2 separate regions of the Homo sapiens genome follow, and region 1 is linked to region 2. Evidence: promoter capture Hi-C in human tissues and cell types (Jung and others, 2019). All regions are on one chromosome and are shown on one strand. The core of a region is centred on a gene start or on the middle of the fragment in contact, and the rest is flanking DNA. Distances in the headings are between cores, read along the strand shown. Region 1 has its middle 53 kb from the start of GLS. Region 2 holds the start of ANKAR (ankyrin and armadillo repeat containing).

Region 1 (2,979 bases), core at 153-2,652, 1.2 Mb after region 2:
AAACCCCGTCTCTACTAAAAATACAAAAAATTAGCTGGGCGTGGTGGCAGTCACCTGTAGTCCCAGCTACTCGGGAGGCTGAAGCAGGAGAATGGCATGAACCCGGGAGGTGGAGCTTGCAGTGAGCCGAGATCACGCCACTGCACTCTAGCCTGGGCGACAGAGTGAGACTCCATCTTAAAAAAAAAAAAAAGATCAAATGATCTGCAAATAGAGGTTGTTTCCCCTCTTCCTTTGCAATCCAGTTGTCTTTTTTTTTTTCTTGCCTAATTCCTTTGACTAGAACCTCCAGGACAATGTCATGTAAGTGGCAAGAGTGGACACCCTTGTATCTTTCCTAATTTTAATATGATGAGCTATGGGTTTTTGTAGATGCCTTTTAACAGATTGAAAAAATTCCCTTTTATTCCTAATTTGTTGAGTGCTTTTATAATTAAAGAATGTTGATTTTATCAAATGCTTTTTATGCATCTATTGAGATACTTGTTTGATTTTTGTCTTTCATCCTGTTGATATAGTATATTACATTAATTGATTTCAAATGTTAACCCAATCATTCCTGAAATAAAACCCACTTGGTCATGGGGTATAATCCTTCTTGTATGTCACTGGATTTTATTTGCTGGTATTTCATTGAGGATTTTTATGTTTCTATTTCTAAGTTTCACACTATTGATTTTTAAATCATTTAGAGAAGAAGAAATATGCAATTATATTGTATATTATAATTACCTAATTAGCTTTCTCACAAGGCAAGCCTGCTAGCAATGAATTCACTTGTTTATCTGGGAGTATCTTTATTTTGCCTTCATTTTTGAAAGACAGGCATGCTGGATATAAGATTCTTGATTGAATTTTTATTTTTTTATTTTTAGCACTTTAAATATGTCATTCCTTGCCTCCGGCCTCCATTGTTTATAATGGGAAGTCAGCTGGTTATCTTATTAGGATTCTCTTGCATGTGATAAGTTGTTTTCTCATAAAGCTTTCCAGAGTTTCTCTATCTTTGGCTTTTAATATTTTGATTACAATGTGTCTAGGTGTGGATTTCTTTGTATTTATCCTAATTGGAGTTTGTTGAGTTTATTGGACGTATAGATTAACATTTCTTCCAATAATTTTTCTTCTCCTCTCTCTGTCTTCTGTCATTCTAGTACTCTGAAGTGAGAACAAGCAAGATTAATGTGCTCTGAATTAGAGGTCACTATAGCTCTCTATTCTAAGTTTAAATTATTCCCAAAGTCTTGGTGCTTAGTCCCTCTGTCCGTGGCTTGCAACCCTGGCTGCATGTTAGAATCACCTGTGGAGCTCTAAAAAAATCCCAACCACAAACCAATTACAGTCAGCCCTTTGTATCTACTGGTTCTGTATCCACAGATTCAACCCACTTTGGATTAAAATATTTGGAAAAAATAGCAATACAACAATAAAAATAATACAAGTTAAAATAGTATGGTATAATTTTTATATAGCATTTATATTATATTGGGCATTGTAAGTAATTTACAGATGATTTAAAGTGTACAGGAGGATGTGTGCTGATTATATGCAAATACTATACCATCTTATGTAAGGAAATTGAGTATCTTCGGATTTTGGTATCCACACAGGGTATGGGGAGGTACATCCTGGAACCAATCCCCAGAAGACACCGAGGGACAGTAGTACTTCAGAACTTCTGAAGTGGTGCTCAGGGATTGGTAGTTTTTAAAGTTCCCCAGGTGATTCCAGTGTACAGCCACTTAAAGAACCACTACTAGAGGCAAATGTTGAAGACTCTTAGCTGTGACCAAGGGAGGATTAGAGAGGCTAGGAGCCAGGCAGGTCTTTACAGATTGTGCAAGGTTTTTTACTTTTGAAAATCTCATCTAAGGACTCTCCACCAAAGTTCCAGGATTAGACTAATAAATTTCTATACACATGTGCCGTTCTTCTATATTGTTTCTGCCATTACCTTATATCTCATTCTCTGCTTCTTTTGAACAAGTAATACCTTTCCATTAGACCACAATCTATAATTTCTAACACCATGATTTTCATTTCAAACCCAGCAAGGATCCCAGCAGAAATTTTGGCATACATGGGCACTCCCATTAAGTCATTGAGAATGATCTAAATATTCGTTCAGAGGGAATGAGACCTTCTTGAAGAGATCATATCTGCATCAAGAAAATTAAGGGTAGAGATGTATATATTAAATATTGACATATATGTTAGTATTATATATATAAATAGCCTTTATAAATCAAATAAAAACTGAATACCACAACTTAAATGGCCTATAGATACATATATATATATATATTTAATATATAGGCAAAATACAGAAGCATGAACAAATATGGAATGCTTACTATAATTTTAAAAAATTTAAATTCAAATATGAAGTATAATTTTTAAAGCTTTTAGATGGGCATAAATGAAAAAGATTGATAATATCCAGTCTAGTGAAGGTAAGGGAAAATGATTATCCTTATTCACAGCTGATGGGAGGGCCTCAGACCCTCCAACCTGTCCTCCATGCTACTACAAACTCTGTGGAAAGCATTCTCTTTTGTATTTATCAAAATTGTAACTCTATTCAACATTGATTCACCAAATCTTCTAAGAATTTATCCTAAGGAATAATAGACGTATGTGCAAGGATGTTTGTGTACAAGGAGCTTAGTTGATAATTAGGTGACGATGAGCAACATTAACTCCATTAAAAAGGATTTGGTCAAATAAATTATGGTACATCCAACAACAGAATCCTCATTCAAAAATTAGAAAGTAGATCTTTATATTTGAAAAAGTTTATAGAATATGATGATTGCATTTATTTAAAAATTACAAAGATACATGGTTATATAGACATTTAAATGCTCCAAATTGTTAGTTCACTTTCTCCGTATTACTCTGATGCTTTTACTATGTTCACATATAATCAGCAAAAGAGGAATAACAAGGGAATAGGTGATTCTAAGCCATTTATCCCTG
Region 2 (3,237 bases), core at 149-2,648:
TAAAGTTGGCCATTCCTTTTTTTTTTTCCACACACTTCTTTGGCTTCTGTGACCAATTTTGGTTTTCCTCCTGCCTTCTTGGCTGTTCTTTTTGTCTTCTTTGCTGACTTCACTCTCTCTACCTGACGTTTAAATGTTAAATTTCTCAGGTCTCTAATCCTTGGTTCTCAACTCCTCATTCTGCACGCTCTCCCTTGGTGATTTCAACCCCACTCCTGGCTTCAATTACTATAAATCTGCCAAAATTTATACATCTAACCCCTACTGCCATTCTTAGCCCAGAACTGTTTATCTAAAGCATATCTCACATCTCAATTTCTCTCACAGGTACTTCAAGGTCAATTAGTACATAACTGAACTCTTAATCTTGCCCTGATATCCTGTTGCTCCTGACAGAAATGTGGTTCTGACTTGGACACAACCTTCTTTTTCAACATATCCCCAATCTGTCACCAACAGGCAACCTCATTATTTTTCAAATCTGTCCACAGTCCCTGAGCCCCACCTCCACTGCCACTACTGTAGGCTAATCCTTTGGGATGAAATTCAAAATCATTACTCAGCAGCCTGCATGATCTGTCCATCGCGCACCTCAGCAGCTCGGTTTGTGCCCACATCTCTCTTGTTCTCTAAGCAGGGTTTTGCGGTTTCTCAACCATTTCAACTTTGTTCTCACTTCAATTCTTTCTCTCCTGCTGTTCCCTGTTCCTGAAAAGCTACTTGTCCAGTCCTTTGCTTGGGTAGCTCTTTTCCATCTTCTAGGCTCGGAGGGGAAAAGGGCACTTCCTTAGGCAGCCTTTCCTAGCCCTGGGCTAGGTTAGCTTTCATTCGAGTGCTGTCATTCCATCTAATATTGGCACACTGTTAAATATAGCTGTGAGATGATCTGTTCAACTGTAAGCTCCTTGGGGTTTCGTGTCTGCCCTGTTTTCTAGGGTTTCCAGCTTGTAGCTGGGTGCCTGACTCATAATAGGTGTTCCATAAATGCTTGTTGAATGAAAGAATGATGATGGAGGTGGTATTCCAACTCGGGACTGCCTCAACGCCCGGCGCTGTCTCCTCTGCTACTCTGTTTCGGTGTTTTAGCAGAGGCAGATAGTGAGGGCGGCACAGTGCCCACGGCATGCCGCTGGACTAAGCGCTAAGCGGGCTTGGGATGATGCGCACGCGGGGGGTCTGAGCCAGCCAAGGGGCCGGGCGCCGCCTGGGGGCGCTGCGGCTGCTGCGGGACGCACCAGGCCTAGTCGCCCGCAGGCTCCGCCCGAGGAGCAGCCCAGCCACCCCAGGGCCCGGAGGACCAACCGCTTCGACCCGCGCCCGGGCGGCGGCAGTGTTGGCCGGCGAGGCGAGGAGGGCCGGGCCGCCACGGTGGGGCGAAAAGCCCTGAAAGTTCCTCTCAGTTCCTTCCGGTGCGCCTCCCGCTCGCCCTTGCGGAGGCCCTGAGGGCGGATTCAAGGCCCCGCGAGAAGCCATCTGAGGCGGCGACGACTGTTCTCAGCCCCACGGGAACGCCGCGGACGCAGCGTCCCTCTCCCGGACAAGAAAACAGCCATTCTAGAGTAGGTTCCTCCCCTTTCCTTGTTTTTTCCCCTTTCCCGTGCCCATGGCTGACGCGAGCTGCTTTTGGACGTGGGTCCCGGGCTTGACTGGACAGACGTGGGTTCTGTTTCTGAAAGGCGTAAAACCTCAGACTTGTCCTGCAACCTCCTGGTCTCCGTTTTTGCCTCTATAAAGTGGGCATAACAAGGTCTGACTCACTGACCTGGGGTCTCAGGTGTGGCGCCCAAACCAGCACTATCAGCATTTCCTGTAACTTTACTAAAACGCATATTTTCTGGCCCCACTACAGCTCATTGAATCAGAAACTCAGTGGTGGGATTCAGCGATTTGTATTTGAACAAGCCCCAGGTGATTTTGATACAAGCTAAATTTTGAGAACCACTATATAATAGAGACCAATCAGATGAAATAAATCAAACCATTATATAGTAAAGAACCTGGCTCAATAAATAGTAGTTGTGGTTATTATTATTTCAGGAATAGACAGGCATTCATTGGCACAGAAATTGAAGGTTAAGCAAATGCTTCTTTCCTTTTCTTTTTCTTTTTTTTTTCTTTTTTTGAAACAGTGTTTTTCACACTTGTTGCCCAGGCCACCGCAACCTCCGCCTCCTGGGTTCAGCCTCCTGTCTCAAGCCCCGCGAGTAGCTGAGATTACAGGCATGTACGACCACGTTTGGCTAATTTTGTATTTTTAGTAGAGACGGAGTTTCTCCATGTTTGTCAGGCTGTTCTCGAACTCCTGACATCAGTTGATCTGCCCGACTTGGCCTCCCAAAGTGCTGGGATTACACGCATGAGCCACTGCGCCCCACCCTTTTCTTTTCTTTCATGCAGGTCAGTATAGTCTTGCTTTAAAAAACTGAAAACAAAATAAATATCCATATGATTTGGATATTTATCCCCTCCAAATCTCATGTTAAAATAGATTCCCCAATGTTGGAGGTAGGGCTTGGTGCGAGGTGTTTGGATTATGGGGGTGGATCCCTCATGAATGGCTTGGTGCTTTCCTGGCAGAGTGAACTCTACCTCTGAGCTCATGAAAGATCTGGTTGTTTAAGAGTAGACACCTCCCCTTTCTCTCTATTGTTCCGTCTCTTACCATGTGACACACTGGCTCCCCTTCCCCTTCCGCCATGATTGTAAGCTTGGTCTCACAAGAAGCTGAGCAGATGCTGGTGCCATGCTTGTACAGCCTGCAGAATTGTGAGCCAAATAAACCTCTTTTCTTTATAAATTATGCAGTCTCAGGTATTCCTTTATAGCAACACAAACAGACTAACACGAACATATACAAAAGAATGCCTCTCCAACAACAAAATAGGTATGTAACAGTAGCTTCTCACAGATAAACTTAACGTTTCTTTTTGACATACATCTTCTTGTCTTTTGAATTCTTTGAAAAGCAGAACATGGTTAATGATAAAGGTTTTATAATTTTAATTATTTTAATTCAAATTTCAGTTTTCATATACTGCAGTTATTTTTAATTTGAAAACTATAATGGTTGACCATGAAAAATTAATCTTATGTAGGTGAAAGGTACAGATTTATTTCTAGACAAATCCAGTTTCATTGGCATGTCAGATTTTATTGATAATCTTTTCCTTCTTATTCATTGCAGAAGCTTCAAAAAGGACACACTAGATTTAATTAGAAATGTTAAGATTGCCCAAA

What was found. The method cuts DNA at HindIII sites, captures the fragments that hold promoters and counts their contacts. A contact is called where the count stands out against the background at its distance.
Region 1: a fragment that was not itself captured here is called in contact with the fragment with the promoter of ANKAR in region 2 in 1 of the 25 tissues and cell types used here (lymphoblastoid cells).

What each region holds. Positions count from the first base shown.
Region 1 is chr2:190,826,150-190,829,128 of GRCh38, forward strand. No RefSeq gene overlaps it. Among named protein-coding and RNA genes, the nearest start is that of GLS, 53 kb to the right of the region's middle. The HindIII fragment of the contact is 3,155 bases long and covers 1-2,979 here.
Region 2 is chr2:189,673,272-189,676,508 of GRCh38, forward strand. ANKAR (ankyrin and armadillo repeat containing) reads left to right here and starts at 1,399. Exons shown (of 23, transcript NM_001378068.1): 1 at 1,399-1,559; 2 at 3,185-3,237. The coding sequence starts at 3,220. It overlaps LOC105373793 (a long non-coding RNA gene), which reads right to left and starts at 1,014. Exons shown (of 2, transcript XR_923692.3): 1 at 560-1,014; 2 at 1-122. RefSeq lists a silencer at 1,055-1,474 and an enhancer at 1,525-1,784. The HindIII fragment of the contact is 7,879 bases long and covers 1-2,947 here.